Regions from separate parts of the Homo sapiens genome. Here region 1 is linked to region 2. Evidence: promoter capture Hi-C in human tissues and cell types (Jung and others, 2019). All regions are on one chromosome and are shown on one strand. Each heading gives the region's core, a stretch centred on a gene start or on the middle of the fragment in contact. The rest is flanking DNA. Distances are from core to core; before and after follow the strand shown. Region 1 overlaps C18orf61 (a long non-coding RNA gene). Region 2 holds the start of CIDEA (cell death inducing DFFA like effector a).

Region 1 (5,709 bases), core at 2,920-5,419, 38 kb after region 2:
CTACTAAAAATACAAAACAAAATTAGCCGGGCGTGGTGGCAGGCGCCTGTAGTCCCAGCTACTCGGGAGGCTGAGGCAGGAGAACGGCGTGAACCCAGGAGGTGGAGCTTGCAGTTAGCCGAGATCGCGCCACTGCACTCCAGCCTGGGTGACAGAGCGAGACTCCGTCTCAAAAGAAAAAAAAAACAACAAACAGAGAGTTTGGTGTAAAGTGGGAAAAGCAAAGAAACCTGCATGGATGGGCTGAAGGGTGTGCTGGGAGAAGAGTGAGAAATACGTCTGGGGAAGAAATTGGAGATGGAGGTTTAATCCCAAGTGATCCCAAAGGGATGTACTGAAGAATTAATGTGTGACTAGGAACAGGGAGGTTATGGAATTGATCGTCAACCCAACAGTGGGCACTCAGTTCCACTAATGAATGAGGACTGTGAGGACAGACAGACTGAGGGGCAGGCAGATGAAGGCGTGGGTTGTACATAAAACAGGTCCACTCGATTGTTGACAAGAAACTGTTTTCAAGTTCCGTTTTGCCATGCATGGAATAGCTTTTCATTAGCTGAATTTAGTGACATATAAAATCATTAAACTAAGGCAGACACCCAGAGTTCCCACATGAAAACCAAATGTAAACCGGCTGTGACCCACTTCAACACCATCATTGGAGATCAGAAGCTGAGCCCTTTTCTGATGTTTAAAACCTGCATAATATTCAGTGTATTATTATTTGTGTATCTATTTCCTTTGTGATGGAAATTTGGTTTGTCCCAATTTTCTATTTTATTAAAACATTGCTACATAGAAAGTCCCCTTGCATATATTTCTCCTAATGGTAGAAATATTTTACATAAAAGACTCTAGAAATGGGATGAGATCCATGGGTTAGGAGAATTTTAAAACAGATAGGTCCTCCCAAATTGCCCTCTTACAAATCATACAAATTCATATGCTTCTAGCAGTTACAGAGAGTGGGTGTTACCCCCCATCCTCACCAACACTGAATGTTACACACGAGAGCTGAGTATCCCTTATCTGAAATGATTGGGACCAGAAGTGATTCCGATTTGGGTTTTTGCAGATTTCAGAATGTTTACATTTTATATGCTTACTGATTGAGAATTCCAAATCCAAAAATTTGAAATCTGAAATGCTCCAGCGAGCACTTCCTTTGGGCATCATTTAGAAGCTGAAAATGTTTTGGGTTTTGGAGCATTTTGGATTTCAGATTTTTGGATTTGGGATGCTAACCTGTATTAAACATCTGTGACAACCTGAAAGACAAAAGCACACCTCAGTGTTTTATTTTGCTTCTTTCTGCTCACAGTTTCCATGAACTTTTTTTTATCTCTGTGCTGGTGCATGCTGTGTGTGAAATGCTACTCACCCACAAACAGGTCCAGCCCAGATGGCAGCTCCGCTGTGAAGTCTTTCCCATTCTCATGGGGAACACTATTTACTTCCTGATATCCAAAAAGAACGGTGCAAATATTCCTCTCAATTGCATTGTGAGGTTTTCCTTTAAAAAATTTTATGTGGAGCCCATTTTCTAATCCTTTATTCCTTATGTCACTGGTTCCTTGTACAGATTAGGTGCAAATATTATTTGATTGGATGACTGAATGATACCACACGTTCCTTCTAGCTCTGGGAATCTGTGTTGCCATGATTCCACTGGCCTGGGACCTGTACATGAGTAGCAGTTTTAAAAAGCAAAGCTCCTATCTTTAAATAAAACCATAAATTCCTTACTCATTACTCACACCTGTATCAGGAACAGGTTTGGATGCAGGGGAAATTCCAAGGATGACGGGTATGGATCGGAAAAGACAGTGATGTCCAAGTACAGGCGGTGCACTCCACAGGTCATCTCGGACAGTCACTGGAAGCTAGGCAAAGTCTGTGGTCTCATGGCCACAAGCCCAATGATTTGACCTCAGAGGGTATCCTGCATTAGAAGCAAGAACGAATCAGAGATTTGAGGAAATAGGAGAGGTCATAATTGTCACCATGCCTGCTTTCTCAACCTAAGGACTGACAAGCATCTAGCCTTGAGCCAAAAAGGCTGCAAATACATGTGTATTTAGTAGTGGGCTGTTGCACTCCAGAGCTGGAACACGGCTTTGTACTTTGATTCTCCAGCCTCCAGGAGACTCATAAATCCTGCACTCCATGATCCAAAATGGTGGGTTTCCTTGAAAAATGTAATTAATATAATTAATTATACATAGATTCAAAAATATTCACTTTGTAGAATAAACAGAACTGACTTATGTTATACAATTTAGAAAGTTGATATTAGGTGGTTTTCACAGTTCCATTAAAATTTTTGATAATTAAGAGCTTTTATTTACTTTCAAAATTTGGTGGTAATCCCCAGTCTTCCTGTGCAAGGAATTACATTTAAGAAAAACAGTATTGCATAAAGGCAAGCAGATGATTTTGAGAGATGAAGATAAAGACAAAGAGATATTAATGTCTCTGAACCTGACCAACACCTGAAAATAATAATAATAATGATAAGGGTACATCTAGTGCTCCAGGGCTTCATTAAAAAAAAAAAACTTTAATCGTCTCAGGAACCTCAAAAATAAGGTAGAATTATAATACTTTTACATAGATTCAAGGGATTTGCTCAAGATCACAATTCTATTCAGTATCAGAGTAAGGACTGGATCCAAGCATCCTGACTCCCAAATCTGTGCTGCTGAGCACTGTGCTATGTATAAATATCACAGATCATAAGAAATAGAAACACCTGACTACAGGAACGCCCTCTGTACTTACACACTTTGGTGAGCATTAGGAAATGGGGCTACTGCAATGAAATTGAGATGAGCTTGGGAGGTCAAAAGGAAGCATTCTGCTACTCCAGTGAAATGAACATTGTGGTTTGCTCATTCTAACGTGGAAAAAAAATTTCTAATGTATCTACCCTTTAATTAACTCTTCCAAAAGAAGAAGCTGGAAGACAGATGCAATTAAAGGCTCAAATGGAATTATTTCTACCTAATGGAAGAGTTGCCCATTTTGTGAAACTGTGCTAGAAGGACCCAAACAATGCTGATGACAATTATCAGGATGATAAGCAACCTGGAAAGATAACGAGTGATGTAAATCATAGACAAGTCATGACAGGCGCCTCCATCGTGCTTCAGTGCTTGCATTCATTCTTGTGCTATTTTATTACTTTTACCAAACAAAACATAGCTCCTTGAAATCACATGAACCTATGCCTAATGAGAATCAGTTAGTAAAATGCCCGTGACTAGTAATCTTCACCTATGCAATTAAACATTCATTCATAAAATAGTTCAAATGTAAGCGAATGTGTTGAATGAAGAGTACATTAATACATTAATTAGAAAAAACATTCTATTAAAAAGAAATTATTTGTATGATAAAAGAGATCACCATTTTTGTACTTTTTCACAAACTTACAGAAAACTAAGTCAGCTTACACAGGTGAATCTTAAAAACCTCTAACCCAGAATGTAAAGTACATCGGCCAAAAATGCTAACCTAACGCATTTCAATACTACAGGACTCATGTAGGTAGAACTAACGGAATAAAATACTGGTAGTCAGTATAATCCTATCTGTGGTTCCTGAGGTCCAGGGAGAATGAGTTTGTCACCTTCCCACCTCCCATGAGCCAGTGTTTTTTCCGTGAATAATAAAAACAGCAGGATTTACTTGCCTGTCCAGAAAAGGTCATCACTTCTGTGTGTTCTCCTGAAACAGGTGGTGGCTGGGTGAAAAGGCGGACAGCATTAGGGCTGGAGATGGAGGCTCCAGAATCTTGGATGAGCTTCTGAAACCTCTGCAACTTCCAGCCACTAAATGGAATGAGCCACGGAAAGCTTTAGCCCAATGCCCAGAACAAGATCAGGGTTTAGTGCATGGCACTGCTCTCCTTGTAGTTCTGTCATCAGCCGCCACACATCCATCAGGAACACACATCCTGAGTTATTCTATTTATAATAAGCACAAACTAAAAGAGAGCGAACTCTAGCACACAAAGTTGTAGTGGCTAGCTTTGGAAAGGAGGAGATAGAAGGACAGTTTTGGGGTGCAGGTAACTTCTAGTTTTTGACCTGACTTGTAGTTCCATGGGTGCTCACTTTGTGATAAGTTACAGAGCTGTGTATTTAGGTTTCATGTGTTTTCTGTATGTAGGTTGTACTTTAGATTTTTAAATGTTTCACAAAATACTATGACAGTATATGGTCTATTGAAAATGTGGAAGGAGAAAGAGAAGACTCTGTGGTCCATTCTGTCACTTGCCAGCCCCTGGCTTCAGGCCCAGATGGCTCTAGGTGTCCTGGGTTGACTGAACTCTTGCAGCAGCCTCTTGGAATGAGCACCTTCCCCCACTCTGTCCCTTGGTAACATGGGCCCATCCTTAATGGCTGCGTTTGATAAACTCATCTGTGTTAGTGTGTGGATGACTCATCTGTTACCTCCTTCATGTGATGTATATAGGGACATCTGGATGGTGCATTCACCTGTCCGAGCAGGTGAGAAATGCATCCCTCATGACAAACATGAATGAAGTTTTGTGAATATATGGTTGAACGTCGAGAGTGTCAGCAAAAGTCAGGTACAATTAGAGACACTTAAAAGGAAGAAAAACAATTTCATTTAAAAATAGGGCCTTAGTTTTTGTATGTGGAAAGAGATAAAATTAACCTAAATGTCTTCTCCTGTCTCTAGCACTCTGATTAGTTTCACTGGACCCAACCACTGGAGCCTCTAATCCGCTTCTCCATCTGCACTTCTCCAAGAGCATTCTAGGCAGAGCCCAGGGGGCCCTCGGCAACCCCCTGTGAGGAGGAGCTCGGTCTCTCTCTCTCTCTCTGACACCTGCTTCTGGACCTTGGTGTGGAAGTCCATGGAGAAGGGGTGCTGCCATTACTGAGGCTGGAGGTCAGAGGCTCATCAGAGAGGCTACCCTGACCTCCTAGTCCTGGGGCCAGCAAAGGGTGCAAGCACTGGCTAGTGGCTGGGTGCTATGACCCATGAGGCATACATAGAAACCAAGTCAGCATTTTGTTGATCTCCCAAGAAAGCTTCAATTTTCTTCGCTATTCATAATAATGGCAGAAAGTTCATTTTAGGAATATTTTCAATAATTATTGTCACCTGATGAGTAAATTAAACTACTACAAACAATCTGATTACAGAGCAGTGAAAGTCAGTTCAGTTCTCCAGCTGTCTCAGGGGGACCAAGAAGTGGCGGTGCATATTTGAATACCTACTCAGGCAGAAATGTCACCAAATGCAGCCAGTGCATCTTATCCAATTCCCATTTACCTCATTCTACCTCAGCCTTCAGTACCCTCTGCCATACTCTATGGACTTCCTCCAGTCCAAGCCACTCACCAAAATGGGACACCCAGACCCAAATGACTTCAAAAATCCAGCAGGGAGGTTGAAAAGCGAGGTGAGCAGAGGAGCAAACACACCAAATATCCCTGCCTCTGACCACTGCACAAGCTCTTCTGTCCCTCTGGTCTTCTGTTTTTACCTCCAGACATAATGGATTTCCAGTTTTTCATGTTTCTCTACACCTTAGAAACATTCCTCAGAATTCATACCCTGAAAGGGATGTCCTCAGTTCATGGCTTGCCTGTGTACAGAATGGGGCTGATCTTCCCTGGCCTCCCTGTGAGAAACATGGGCAGTAGCTTCAGGAACTCCCCCAGGATGCAG
Region 2 (5,509 bases), core at 1,013-3,512:
AACATGTACCAGCTTCATAACAACTTCAGCGTTTGGCAGGAATGTTATCACTGGCAGAACACAGGAACAGAGCAGACTTTGTCTGTGATAGTCAACCTGCATGTGGACCTCCTTGATGTCTGGAGCTTTGTTGTGAGACCTCAGGCTGCTTTCCTCAGGACCAAGGCCCCTAACGATTCTAGCTGACTAACAAATGCCTGGGTTAAGGTTTCACCACTGACTACAAGTACCTGATTTTTAAAAATTTTTGTGCACATTGATTCGGTTCTTTCCTTGGTAAAATGTAGTTACTAATAAAGACAGAATTATGACATCCTGGACCTGGTTTAAATTAAGGAACCCTGAGAGGAAGCCGAAGTCCAGCAAGAGCACAATTAGCAAATATGTTAGGACCTGGCCTCTGGCTCTTTTGCCCGGACAGGGTTTTAGAGAGGGGCAGGGAAGAAAAGGTGTTTTCCCTTCAACAAGAATTACAGATTGTTTTCTTCCAGTTTAGTTTGGTAACAGGTAGATTTCACAGAATGACAGTAGTCCAGCCTGGGAGCAGGTAGATTTCACAGAATGACAGTAGTTCAGCCTGGGAGCAGGTAGATTTCACAGAATGACAGTAGTTCAGCCTGGAAGCAGGTAGATTTCAAAGAACTGCAGCAACAGCTTGTCCATAACAGGTAGAGTCATTCACTCCTGGGATGAGCCAAGCTGGAAGGAATGTGTCCTAGGAGACTCAAGGTTTCCCAATGTTTCATTTGTCAACAGCTCATAAGCAAGTCACTTCCACTTCACACGACCTCACAGAGACCCCACACAGATGCATTTTGGATTTTGGTGAGCTGTTATAATAGTCAGAGGCAGGGACAGGCTCAGCCTGAATCCTGCTCAGAGGCCAACCAGGATTGGTTAGTGCGAGTCAGCCCACACCTCCTTCCCCCATGCTCCGGAGGAACAGTGGGTGTGTTGTGAATTCACTGGAAAAGTGGTTGGAAGGACGCATTCCAAACTGCTAAGACCTCCCCTCCTGGAAGTGGGACTGTGGTGTGGATGGTTCTGGAAGAACGCAAAAGATACAGGGCCCTGACCTTTAGGCCTAAGCGTGTTAATGACCATACACGAAGCAGGTGTTTCTCAGCGTCCCCCTGCCACCGCCCCGACTTGTACTGTGGGCTTATTTTTAAAGAGAAAGATGCTTCTAACCTGCAGTGTCTACAACAGCTCCCATTTAAGAACCCGGGATTGGAAGCTCATAGATTGCGTTTCGTAGCCGGACCGCTCCCTTTCACACATGTAGTCTCTCTGCCCGCCACACGTAGCACACACAGTGGGACCCGGCGCCGCTGAACGCCTGCACCTTCAAGCCCGCAAATGGTTCTCTATCCTTTTCCAGGTACTTGATCTTCAGAGAAACACGATCTCCCTCTTAGACCTTACTTTACAGTTGCTGCCACGCAATGACTTAGGATTTTACCAAGAATTGGCTTGGGTCTGTTGGGATATGAATATTAACCCAAGCAGGAAAATAGCCAATGCTGCCTGTTCGACCACGAGCGGGTGCGAAGCGCAGGGAAGACTCCTCAGGGTCCACCCGCCCCTTGTCCCCCCTGCTCCCCAGGCAGCGTCTCCGCCCTTGGACCCGGAGGCAAGGAGGAGCGCTTCTCCCAGCACCACCAACCTGGAGGGCTCCGCCGGACGGTTGGGGCCTCCCCTCGGAGACCAGAGCCCGCGCTTCCAGGAGGGGCCAAGCCTGGGCCCCTCCCGCGCCCAGCTCCCGTTGTGATTTCCAGGACCCCCAGAAGCCCGGTCCCCTCGCATCGCGGAAGCTTTGCTCGGGGTTCCTGGGACCGGACCCTCTTCTGCGCCCGCGACTGCAGCAGCGGCCAGAGATGCATGCAGCCACTCGCCAGCTGTCACCTGGTTTGCAGACGCCCGCGCACCTCGCAAGAGCCACACCTGGTACCTGTGCCCAGCTGCAAGAGGGTGAGGAGGCGCGGGACGGGATTGGGCTCTGCCCGCGGGCGCGGCTGGACGGCTTGGGCACCAGTGGGGCGGATGGGTGTGTGCGCGGGGTCGCGGAGCGCAAGAGAATGCGGGGAGCAGGGGGCTGAAGGGAGCGGGGTACGGTACTAGAGGCGCACAGGGGAATATGAGGCCACCGAACGCAAGGCGATTGGAAGCGCACGGCAATCAGGGGGACGCGGGGCACTCGCCTGATGAGGGCTCCTGCATAGTCCCGGGCGGCCTCCATGGCGCGGATCCCCTAGCGGGCCTGGAGGTCTGTCTGCCTGCACAGCCTCTTAAAGTGCGGCGGCCCCGCCCCCGCCCGCCTGCCAGCCCCGCGAAGGCCTGACTGGCGCAGGGGAGGACGTTTTGGCACGAGCTCTCCACCGCCGAGGATCGCGACTTCGCGCTCTGGGAGCCCCCGGTCGTCCTGGCTCCCGCAGCCTGGAGCCGCGCGTCCTTCGCTGCCTTGGGCCGTACCGAGGACCTTGGAAGCCCAGATGCTCCCCGGGTCTCTTTTGGTCACTTGCCAGCCTGTTCGTTTTGCACTTCTGGGGGTCGGGGCAGTTGGGGTCATAACCAATCCTGGCAGCATCACTTTGGCCGCGGAAAGACGGGTATGTGGATTTTAAACCCAGGCCACGGGTGGGGCAGGTGAGGAGACGGATGTGAGCGCCACTTGCCTCCAGCTCTGGAGTCCCCCAGAGCCCAGCCCCAGGCTCAGCGAGCCGCTGGTTCCCTGCAGGGATGCGGAAGCTGCCGCAGACACCGGGACCTGCAGCCCTTCAGGTTCTCCGAGGCGCCTGGGCTTCCTGCCCGCTGCGCTGCTCTCAAGGCCATGTCATGAGCATTTGGGGACAGTGAGAAGGGCATGCAGAACGGGAGGGGAAAGGAGCCTTTGGACTGCATGAATTGCCTTTTAGCTGTAGTAAGGGACCCTCGCAGAGTGAGGAGGCAAAGAGTGAACCCCGCTGGGGCTGGGGGACTTCCGTCCACACCCTGCTCTCATGGTTGTTCCCATCGGAAGACGCAATTAGGGCCTCTGAGACCTCCGAGGAAGGCGGGCAGTTACAAGGGGTTCCCAGAACCCCTCACTACAGGACTGAAGAGGTGGGCTCAGTGTTGAGGGGTGGGACTCGGGCAGTAAGAGGTGTAACTTTCTGGGATGGAGGCTTGCTAGGATATCCTCTCGTGCCCAACTGCTGACTGCCGCCTGGAAACAGCGTTTCGGGAGCTGCAGCGGGACCCTCGCCGGCTCCTCCTGAGCCCACCTGGTTTGAGCAGACTGACCTGATCTCTTAAGACCTGACCCTATGCCCGCCCTCTTCCTCCGCTGGCTCTCAGAAAGGGTCACCGTGGTCAACAAGCCTTGTGACTTGCAGGACTGTTGAAGCCAAAGGCAATTGCCTTCCAGAGTCAAGGACTCCGCCTGCTGGGAACACCCAGCTCCAGGCTCACAGGGGGCAGCTTCCCCCAGAGGCACTGAGCGGACACAGCTTTAGGAGGTCATTCACTGCCCCTCCCACTCACAGCCCCAATGTGATGGATGAGAAAATGGGTCCAATCAATTCAGGTCAACTTACCTCTAACCTTTTTATTGTGAAAAAGTTCAAATATAGAGATACATAGAAAGAACAGGGCTGAGGGTACTGGCTTACATCTGTAATCCCAGTACTTTGGGAGGCCAAAACAGGAGGATGGCTTGAAGCCAGGAATTTGAGACCAGCCTGGGTAACACTGTGAGACTACTATCTCTACACAAAAATAACGATAATTAGCCAAGCATGACGGCGAGCACCTGTAGTGCTAGCTACTCAGGAGGCTGAGGAGGGAGGATCACCTGAGCCCAGGAGTTTGAGGTTGCAGTGAGCTGTGATCATGTCACTGCACTCCAATATGGGCAACAGAGTGAGACTTTCTCTCTAAAGAAAGAAAAAAATCTGTTTGTGTGTATATATCTATCTATCTATATATAAGATAGATAGATAGATAGATAGATAGATAGATAGATAGATAGATAAGAGAGAACAGTACAATGAGCACACTTACACCCAGCCCCTGGATTCAACCACTGTTAACATTTTGACATATTTCTTTGTTCTTTATATTTGAATTTGAACCCTTCCAAATTAAATCCTTTAGCTTGCATCTCTGGAGAAACAAGGACATGATCTCATACATAACCATAGTGACATTATCACTTCTAACAAAATAAAAATAAAGACCTGGGCACTGAGTGTGGACATGGGGGTGGGGTGGGGACTAGCAAACATTTCCAGGCCATGGCGATGGCAGAAGGGACCCAGCAGGAGATCACCCTGGGGTTTTGAGCTTGGGAGACTGGAGAGATGAGGAATCCTGGACGGGAGCAAGTCTGTGGTGGAAGCGGAGATGGTGGTGAGACCAGGCCCTGGGGACCCCTTGGTCACGGAGGCAGCATAGCCCTGGTGTGCATTGGTTCTCATGCAGATCTTCAGGCTGGGAGTAAAAGTCGGTCACTGCCCTGCTGCTGAGTGGGAATCCTGGAGTGCTGCGCTAGGAGGGTGGTGGGGAGAGGTGGGAGAGGGCAGAGGGCAGACTGAGCTCCAGGGGACTTGGCTGCAAACCCAACAGATGATGGAGAAGACAACAGTGCGAGTCATGCCCAGCCTTCCAGCATATTCTCGTCTCCAGCACACAAATTCATTCCACTCTCACTCGACAGGTTTCATTCATCCATGTTCAACAACTACTCTGTGCCCGGGCAACCAGGATTGGGAACCCAGCTTTTTAGTTCAATTCACCAAATGTTTGTTGTCACAGAGCCTGTGCAGCTGTGAACAGTGGGCTCCACCTGACACCCACACCCTCAGGGAGGGACCTCAGCATTGCCTTCCCTCGGCTCCCAGCAGTATCTGTGGGGTGATGCCACAGTGGGCTCTGCTCTTTCTCCAAAGTATGGATGCCTCCCCACTCCCCGAGTCTCAGCATGTGCTGGGCACAGCCCATGCTCTGGAGTGCAGAGACCTAGGTTCCTAGCCTGGTTTTGCCTCCTCTAGCTGGGTGACCTTGGGCCAGTCACATAACTACCCCAAGCCTCAGATCTTCATCTGTCACAGGGCAGCGGCCTGTCTGTCTCACAGGGTGTGTGAGACTCAAATGCCATGAGGGAAGGGCCGGCCTGGTCAGCTCCAGCAGCGTGAGTGGGACTGACCACGACAGCAATGAACGGCTCCACTCCCTACTCCTAGCCAAGAGCGCGTGCCTGAAACAGAAATTGATTCCCACTTACCGCAATACGTTATAAACATCGGTGCTTAGGGTTCAAAGAAACTCCAGTTTCTAATCCAATTTCTGTTTTTGTTTTTTTTTGGTGGAGGAAACAATCATCCCTGAACTTTGGCCTTGCTACTTTCAAATTCTGTCACTGTGGGAACTTTCCTTTTTGAGCTTCAGTTTCTTTATTCCTACTGATCCCTGATGACATGCACTTTTTACCAAGTTTCAGTGGGGTGCAGTGAGAGTCGAGTGAGGTAAT

What was found. Contacts are between HindIII fragments. The study calls those that stand out against the background at their distance.
Region 1: a contact is called between a fragment that was not itself captured here and the fragment with the promoter of CIDEA in region 2, in 5 of the 25 tissues and cell types used here (IMR-90 fibroblasts, bladder, hippocampus and 2 more).

The regions. Positions count from the first base shown.
Region 1 is chr18:12,214,881-12,220,589 of GRCh38, reverse strand. C18orf61 (a long non-coding RNA gene) reads right to left here. Exons shown (of 5, transcript NR_049896.1): 4 at 1,758-1,942. Among named protein-coding and RNA genes, the nearest start is that of C18orf61, 17 kb to the right of the region's middle. The HindIII fragment of the contact is 5,582 bases long and covers 1,379-5,709 here.
Region 2 is chr18:12,251,114-12,256,622 of GRCh38, reverse strand. It overlaps CIDEA (cell death inducing DFFA like effector a), which reads right to left and starts at 2,262. Exons shown (of 5, transcript NM_001279.4): 1 at 2,202-2,262. The coding sequence starts at 2,239. It overlaps LOC105371996 (a long non-coding RNA gene), which reads right to left and starts at 1,610. Exons shown (of 2, transcript XR_935158.3): 1 at 1,192-1,610; 2 at 1-1,044. RefSeq lists an enhancer at 2,520-3,126. The HindIII fragment of the contact is 10,266 bases long and covers 906-5,509 here.